2 separate regions of the Homo sapiens genome follow, and region 1 is linked to region 2. The links are contacts of gene promoters, found by promoter capture Hi-C in blood cells and fetal thymus (Javierre and others, 2016). All regions are on one chromosome and are shown on one strand. Each heading gives the region's core, a stretch centred on a gene start or on the middle of the fragment in contact. The rest is flanking DNA. Distances are from core to core; before and after follow the strand shown.

Region 1 (4,346 bases), core at 837-3,336, 260 kb before region 2:
GGTGTAACCAACCGTAACGGCCTGTCCTGTTACTCCCGATTAACACACAATTATCAGGTTAGAACTGCATTCCACAAGTCTCTTGCGTTCAGTTATCCTGCATATATTAATTCTCCCAAGCTTTGTGCTTTAAAAGAACTGTACAGTGCTGGGAAGTTCTTTACCCATTCCAATCCTTAAGTGCCACCAATACCGGCCTTTAATATTAACAGGGAAGTTAAGGATGTCAACTATACCACTTAGTTTCCCTTCTAGAGGTGTGCTGTGTAAGGCAGCCTCTATAGCTACATGTGGCTATTTCAATTATTTTTATTTTGAGATACAGTCTCGCTCTGTTGCCCAGGCTGAAGTGCAGTGACACGATCTTGGCTCACTGCAACCTTCGTCTCCCAGGTTCAAACAATTCTCCTGCCTCAGCCTCCCGAGTAGCTGGGATTACAGGAGCTGTCATCACGCCTGGCTTATTTTTGGTGGAGACGGGGTCTTGTCATGTTGGCCAGGCTGGTCTTGAACTCCTGACCTCAGGTGATCCACCTGCCCAGGCCTCCCAAAGTGCTGGGATTACAAGTGTGAGCCACCATACCCAGCCTAAATTAAAAGCAAATTTTACTTATTTTCTTGAGACAGAGTCTCACTGTCACCCAAGCTGGAATGCAGTGGTGCCAACTCCACTCACCGCAACCTCCACTTCCTGGGTTCAAGAGATTCTCCTTAGCCTCTTGAGTAGCTGGGATTACAGGTATGCGCCACCATGCCCGGCTTTTTTTTTTTTTTAGTAGAGATGGGGTTTTGCCACATTGGCCAGGCTAGTCTCAAACTCCTGACCTCAAGTGATCCGCCTGCCTTGGCCTCCCAGAGTGCTGGGATTACAGGCCTGGCCTAAAATTAAATTAAAAAAAATTAAGCTCCTTAATTGCACTAGTCACATTTAAAGTTTTCAATAGCCACATGTGACTAGTGGCTACTGTACCGGAGAGCAAATACAGAACATTTCCATCATTGTAGAAAGTTCTGGCTGGGCACGGTAGCTCATGCCTGTAATCTGAACACTTTGGGATACTGAGGCAGGCAGATCACTTGAGGTCAGGAGTTCAAGACCAGTCTGGCCAACATGACAAAACTCCGTCTCTACTAAAAATACAAAAATTAGCCGGGTGTGGTGGCGGGCGCCTGTAGCTGAGACAGGAGAATCGCTTGAACCCGGGAGGCGGAGGCTGCAGTGAGTTGAGATTGCACCACTGCACTACAGCCTGGGTGACAGAGCAAGACTCCGTCTCAAAACAAACCAAACCAAACCAAACCAAAAACATAAAAAAATTCTATTTAATAGTACTACTCTGGATAGGGACTACTTCCTGCAGAGCCTATACTTAAAGCTTCTTGTTGAAAGGTCCTTTGGAATGATCTGTCAGAGATTCATCTTCAGCAACTTCCATTTACTCTTGGAAAATGGTGCCTTTTGCTGCTTTCCTGAGTCAGGGAGGAATCCAGTCACTCCAAGGCTTAAGGTAGCCGAAGCAGACACCCTTGTTTATTTTTGGTCAGTGAGCCCAATGGTTCAGGGTGGGGGTGTAAGGGTGTTATATTTAACTGCTGAATTTATGCATAGCCATGCAATGCTACCAAAGCCCTTACAGTTGCATGGCACTGCCCTCCAGACGCCCAGCCACAGCTTGGACATATCCTTCCACAGCCACTGTCCGGACTTGCATATAAATTCTATGAATAATAAAGAGCAGGTTTTATTTCAGGTCTGAATAGGATTATCTCTCACTGTAAATTTGAAAAAGAGAACCCCTAACTCAAATTACTCAGTATTCTTGCTCCACTTTACTGGTAAAACTTTAGGTGCTGTGGAAATGAGGGTCACTCTACTCTGTATATTTTAGCATTGAAAACCTTTGACTGCTGGGCGCGGTGGCTCAAGCCTGTAATCCCAGCACTTTGGGAGGCCGAGGCGGGTGGATCACGAGGTCAGGAGATCGAGACCATCCTGGCTAGTATGGTGAAACCCTGTCTCTATTAAATATACAAAAAAATTAGCTGGGTGTGGTGGCGGGCACCTTTAGTCCCAGCTGTTCGGGAGGCTGAGGCAGGAGAATGGTATGGACCCGGGAGGCGGAGCTTGCAGTGAGCCGAGATCGTGCCACTGCACTCCAGCCTGGGCGACAGAGCAAGACTCCGTCTAAAAAAAAAAAAAAAAAGAAAACCTTTGACTAAGGCCATGCAAACTCCCTGCACTATGGGAAAAAGAATAAAATTATTTCCCTGTTGGGTAAATCATTTAACAGAGAGTAAAGGATGCTGTGAGATTATCTAAAGCTGAAATAAAGTTTCTTTGTGGAATAAGCCATTAATCTATGTTAAGGGTTAAGGATCAGAAAACAAAAGATTAATACTCATTGGTAACAGAAACAGGCCACATAGATGGCAAACTCCCTAAAAGAGAAAGACAGTAAAAAGTTACTTATTGGTACCTGCCAAAATTGGAATTCTCTGAACTTCTCTTTCTTCCAGAGAAGTTTCAGCTTTTTGCCCTGAGCCACTTTGCAATCATCCATCACGTCCTGACAGCCTCAGTGGACTCCCTCACAGAGATCACCAGCTGCTTCTGGAGCATTAAGACCCATTCTCTCACCTGCTTAAGTTTTAATGCTGCCTGGACAGAGGGTCTATTCTCCATCTGCTGGGCCAGTCTTCTGTTTCTGGCACTGGCTAGCTGCTGTTGTTGCTGCATCGAAGCCCGAATATTCACTGGCGTCGGCTGTTTGTTCTTCAGCATATTAGTAAAGCTTCAAGGTCGAACAAAATGGATGTTTAAATAAAAGCTTTATTACAAACATTTATTGGCATTTTCATGGCTTGCTAGACCAGGAGCTCCAGATCCCACGAACTTTTAAGTAAAGTGGTACACTTAGATCAAGGCTGATGTGGGTTAAAGACTCCTCTGTTTCCACAAACTTGCAAGAATCAGAAACTTAGAAATGCAGCTAAGTGCAGCACATTCAACCAAAAGTGATAACGAGGGCTCAGGTAACGGCTTTTAGAGAGGTGGAAGGTATGAAAAACACGCAATAAGCAGATATGACAAGAGACAGAAGATATAGTTTCAAAGACAAATGAAGAAAGCCTAAACCTTGGGGGATCCGAGGTGCATTCTAAGGCCAAATATGAGGAAGGATTAGAGCACCTTCAAAGCTCACAGCAATGAACATACTCTCATAAATTACAGGAGTGTATCACATTTTAAAATATATGTCACTAACATGCAAACATAAATATTATGCAAACATAAATAATTAGCTTATCATAGCCAAAGAGATAAGGAGAGAAGCACATATGCCTCAGAAGAGGCAAAAATAGACATTAAGTAAATTTCAGTGGTCGAAAGTCAACTTAATGAAATCACTGATCAAAGGCATTCTTTTTTTTGAAACGGAGCCTCACTCTGTCCTCTGTTGCCCTGGCTGGAGTGCAGTGGCAGGATCTTGGCTCACTGCAACCTTCGCCTCACGGGTTCAAGTGATTCTCCTACCTCAGCCTCCTGAGTAGCTGGGATTATAGGCACACGCCACCACGCCCAGCTAATTTTTCTATTTTTAGTAGAGACAGGGTTTCACCATGTTGGGCAGGCTGATCTCAAACTCCTGACCTCGTGATCCGCCCGCCTCAGCCTGCCAAAGTGCTGGGATTACAGGCATGAGCCACCGCGCCTAAACAAAGGCACTCTTAATGAACAAAGTTGTCAGAGATAGAAACTGCCTTTGAATATCTTTACTTTTCTTAGTCTCCAATCATCACTTTTTCTGACTCCAAGTAGTTACTTTTCAAAGTTACATCAGTTTGATCATTTATGAGCCTGTGAAGAGACTCATTATTTCTGTCAAGGAAGTATAATGGAATGGAAGAGAAGAACACTTAACTGTAGAAGAATCCAAAACAAAACCAAACTAAAAGCAGAATGGAAAGAAAGTGAAATGGAGCAAAGCGAGTGCCTCTTACAAGGCCCAAGAATGACATTCAAGGGCCTTTGGACATATTCATGGCTTGCTACCTGCCTCTTACAGGCCAGACACAACACTGCTGGCCTTGGACTGGGCAGCAAGCCTACTGTAGCCAGGGTACCATGCTACCGTGCTGCACGACCCCAGTATCAACGTAAAAAAATGTGAAAAGGAAGAGTGTTAGGAGTCTTTTAAAATACATCCCACCAAATAAATACTTCAGACAGCTTAACATAAAAGTCTACTGATAAGGGGTTTTGAAACAACCGCCCAATTTGTTTTGTGTACCACATGAGATGCAACTAAGAACAGAGGTCTGTAGCCTTCTGTTGGTATTTAGCT
Region 2 (4,303 bases), core at 1,690-4,189:
TCTCTATTTTTGTATGTTTCAAAGAATTTTTTGATTTCTGCCTTAATTTTGTTGTTTAACCAAAAGTCAGGAACAAGTTGTTTAGTTTCCATTTATTTGTGTGGTTTTGAGAGTTCCTCTTGGTATTGATTTCTATTTTTATTCCACTGCGGTCCAAGATTCTTGGTATGATTTTGATTTTTTTGAATTTATTGAGATTTGCCTTATGACTGAGCATGTGGTTGATCTTAGAGTATGTTCCATGTGCAGATGAAAATAATATATATTCTGTGGTTGTTGGGTGCATTGTTCTATAGATGTCTATTAAGTCTAATTGGTCAAGTGTCAAATTTAAGTCCATAATTTCTTTGTTAGTTTTCTGCCTTGATGATTTGTCTACTGATGTCAGTGGGGTGTTGTCCCCTGCTATTATTGTGTGGCTGCCAAAATCTTTTCTTAGATGCAGAAGTACTTATTTTATAAATCTGGGTGCTCCAGTGTTGGGTGTGTATTTATTTAGGATGGTTAAATTTTCTTGTTAAATCGAACCCTTTATCACTATGTAATGCCCTTCTTTATCCTTTTTTACTGTTGTTGGCTTACAGTCTATCGGATCTGATTCAAGAATAGCAACCTCTGCTCTTTTTTGTTTTCTGTTTGCATGATAGATCTTTCTCCATCCCTTTACTTTGAATCTACAGGTGTCATTACACATGAGACAGGTGCTTGAAGACAGCAGAAGGATGGGTCTTGTTTTTAAATCGAATTTGCCAAGGTATGTGTTTTAAGTGCAGTGTTTAGGCCATTCACATTGGAGGTTAATATTTGTATGTGAGGCTGTGTTCCTGCTTTTTTGATTTCTATTTTTTTTTTTTGAGAGGGAGTCTCACTCTGTTGCCCAGGCTGGAGTGCAGTGGCGCGATCTCGGTTCACTGCAAGCTCCGCCTTGTGGGTTCACGCCATTCTCCTGCCTCAGCCTCCTGAGTATCTGGGACTACAGGTGCCTGCCACCATGCCTGGCTAATTTTTTGTATTTTTAGTAGAGATGGGGTTTCACCATCTTAGCCAGGATGGTCTCGATCTCCTGACCTCGTGATCCGCATTTAGCAACCTCTTGCCTGGATGGCTGGGATCCTGGGCTAGTCCCTTCTCCAGGCAGATGTGAAAAAAAAAAAACATCTCAGGATCCCAAACTTACTAAGCCAGAGGGAAAAGTCAAGCTGGGAAATGGGTCATGCAAGCCTGCCCCCACCCAGGTTGGTTTCTAAATAAGATAGCTACAAAGATAAAAAGCCATACACCAATCTCACAACTTGCCCACAAGGAAATTCCTTGTGAGCCTCAAGATCTTTACCCTAAAACAGTTCTATTGAATTTCACCCTGGCAGTGTAATTGACAGCTTATCTTCACAGGTGTGGGACAAAGGGCAGAACATAAAGTCATCCCTCTGCTCACCCAAGACAAATCCATATCTGATTGCTTCCTCTCCCCTATTTTTGTTATCTTATGTAAAAATGCAGATTCACTGAGCCAGATGAAGGCATAAGTGACTATTTCCTCTACTCCGCTCCCACATGAAAATTGTGTATTCAGTGAAAGATTGATCAAAGACTCAAAAGGATGCAATCACTTGTCTCTTATCTACTGACACATTTAAAAAATATTTCTTCCTCTTCCCCCAATATCCACTGTTTCTCCTTCAAATATTGAAGCCCTCAAAATCATCTTTGGAGAAAGACGTAGACCTACCTCTGGGCACGCATCCTTAACTTTGGCCAAATAAACCTCCTAAAATGATTGAGATTCACCTTGGTCATTGTCATTGATTTACACAAGCCTGATCATCCTGCTCTGGTGGTGTCCTCCTGGGCCTAGTGAAACAAATACTGTCAATGGCTTAACAATGTTGCACTGAGATTGTGTCAGTCAAGGTGACACATGGATCGGAGAGACAGACTTTTGCCTCCAGATCCAGAGAGGTCGGTGGGCACATGAAATGAACTAGCTTTGCTAAGGGGGATATCTGTGTTGTGGGGTAGATGGCAGCACAGGTTCTGGCATGGCCTTGATTGCTCAGCAATCTTATTGACCTCTAGGCATAAACCAAGGGCAGAGTGCTTTTGGATGTCCCTTAGCTTTGGTGCGACATGGGGAATGTACAGATGAGACTTAATCCATTTTGGGCAGGTTTCTGAATCTTGAAGGACCACCTCTCCATGAATCCTGGGCATCTGTTGTCCCTTGCTGCCTCTCTGTGAGTAATAAAGTTGCTTTACTAAAACTCGTGTGAATGTTCTGTCTTACTGAACTCATGAACATGGTAAAGTAACCTAGGCATGGTGAACTTTCTTCACACACAATGATTACCCTACTCCAGCTTTCTAGGTCTTTGTAACAGCCAAGTTAGAAAGTTGGGAAAGCAAAGGGGAGGCATAGTAGCATTGCTCTCTCCTTTTTTGAAAACCTTGGAATCTATTTTGAAAACTGATCCTCTGCTCCAGTGATGAACTTTGCATCCCAGAACGACTTAGGAGGAGGTCTCCCTACCTATCTCCTTAGCTGCATAAAGATCTTTAAGTTGATATTCCATTTGCCAAAACTGAAGAGCTGGTAACCTCATCTGTTAAAACAAGACACTCAGGCTGTAAAGTTTGTTCTCCTAGTCTTTTATTAGGGAGCAGTGGAGTAGAGCTAAACCTGAAACCTGGGCCCTGGCTCAGGGCTAAAAAAGGTTCAGGGCACCCCTGTGCGGGTGGGTGGAGTGGGGGTGATTTTGTTTCAGGCTGAGCAGGAGGGCAAAATTCAGTCTGGGTACAATCTGGGCTGCTCCTGTGGCAGCCTAAGCCACAGGTTTGAAGCTTCTATTGAGCAACAGAGTACTTTACATAAATTGCCTCAAGATGAATCAGAGATTTCTTCACCCAAGGGCTAAGATGAAGCCTGAACTGATTATAAAACCTTCCTTGGCTCAGTGCCCTTCACCACTGCTGGCTTTTTGCTGTAGCTCCACATTCCTGTGCATTGAGGGGTAAGTGCATTTTCCTTGGATGGGTTCTTAGGTGGTCCACAGGGTAGTGACTGCAGGTGACCACTTTGAAATCACAAGGTGTTGGAAACCACAACCCTCCACTTGCCTGAGCACCTCTGGGGTGATATTGCATTTTGGACCCAAGTAGATCAGCTCTTGTTGTGCTATGTAGACTCAGTCCCATGATTTAAGAATGGCTAAGCAGGCCGGGTACGGTGGCTCACGCCTGTAATCCCAGCACTTTGGGAGGCCGAGGCGGGCGGATCATGAGGTGAGGAGATCGAGACCATCCTGGCTAACATGGTGAAACCCCGTCTCTACTAAAAAAATACAAAAAATTAGCCGGGCGTGGTGGCGGGTGCCTGTAGTCCCAGCTACTCGGGAGGCTGGGGCAGGAGAATGGCGTGAACCCGGGAGGCAGAACTTGCAGTGAGCCGAGATCGCCCTACTGCACTCCAGCCTGGGCGGCAGAGTGAGACTCCGTCTCAAAAACAAACAAACAAACAAACAAAAAACCCAAAACAACAACAACAAAAAAAGAATGGCTAAGCAGGGGTGGGTTATGGACCATTTGTGGGGGATATGTGGCCATAGTGCCATCACCTGAGGAAAGCAAACAGCCTGGCCAATCACAGAACCCTTCCCAAGGGACCTTGAGTAAGCAATACCCTCCAAGTTATGCACCCCGGTGGATGAGGTGGTATGGAACATGGGCAACTGAGGCTGATTTTTTTAGACGTTAGACAGTATTATATGTTTTCTCCTCCCCATCCTATCCACACATGAGAAGTTCACCATGGATCAAACAGAGCAGAGACCACAAAATAGATATGGAGGATGTTATGTTTTCTTTAGGCCCTTGATTCAGAAAGAGAGGGGAGAGTGGAGGTTGAGGGGTGGGGGAGAAACTGCCTCTAGACTTCCCTTGTTTCCTTGAAGGTTAACATTAGGCTGGGAAGATGACAAAACTTGAAGAGCATCTGGAGGGAATTGTCAATATCTTCCACCAATACTCAGTTCGGAAGGGGCATTTTGACACCCTCTCTAAGGGTGAGCTGAAGCAGCTGCTTACAAAGGAGCTTGCAAACACCATCAAGGTAGGTGATGCCCCTCTCACTGCAAACTTGCCCATGACCCTGCACTGAGGGGAGTGGCAAGGCCTGGCAGAGGATGGTGGGACAAGGACTGGGGTGGGGTTGGCCCCAGTTTGAGCTCCCAAAGGATGCTCTCCCCGCTGCTGTGGGAGAGGTCCTTTGCTTCCCTCTCTCAATAACTCACTTAAGGCTCTACTCAGT

Evidence for each region. The method cuts DNA at HindIII sites, captures the fragments that hold promoters and counts their contacts. A CHiCAGO score of 5 or more calls a contact.
Region 1: a contact is called between a fragment that was not itself captured here and the fragment with the promoter of S100A12 in region 2, in 2 of 17 cell types (neutrophils and monocytes). The highest score is 7.5, in neutrophils.

What each region holds. Positions count from the first base shown.
Region 1 is chr1:153,636,741-153,641,086 of GRCh38, reverse strand. CHTOP (chromatin target of PRMT1) reads right to left here. Exons shown (of 6, transcript NM_015607.4): 3 at 2,639-2,792. Among named protein-coding and RNA genes, the nearest start is that of CHTOP, 4.8 kb to the right of the region's middle. The HindIII fragment of the contact is 1,416 bases long and covers 1,379-2,794 here.
Region 2 is chr1:153,374,257-153,378,559 of GRCh38, reverse strand. It overlaps S100A12 (S100 calcium binding protein A12), which reads left to right and starts at 2,939. Exons shown (of 3, transcript NM_005621.2): 1 at 2,939-3,008; 2 at 3,948-4,105. The coding sequence starts at 3,968. The HindIII fragment of the contact is 5,829 bases long and covers 2,841-4,303 here.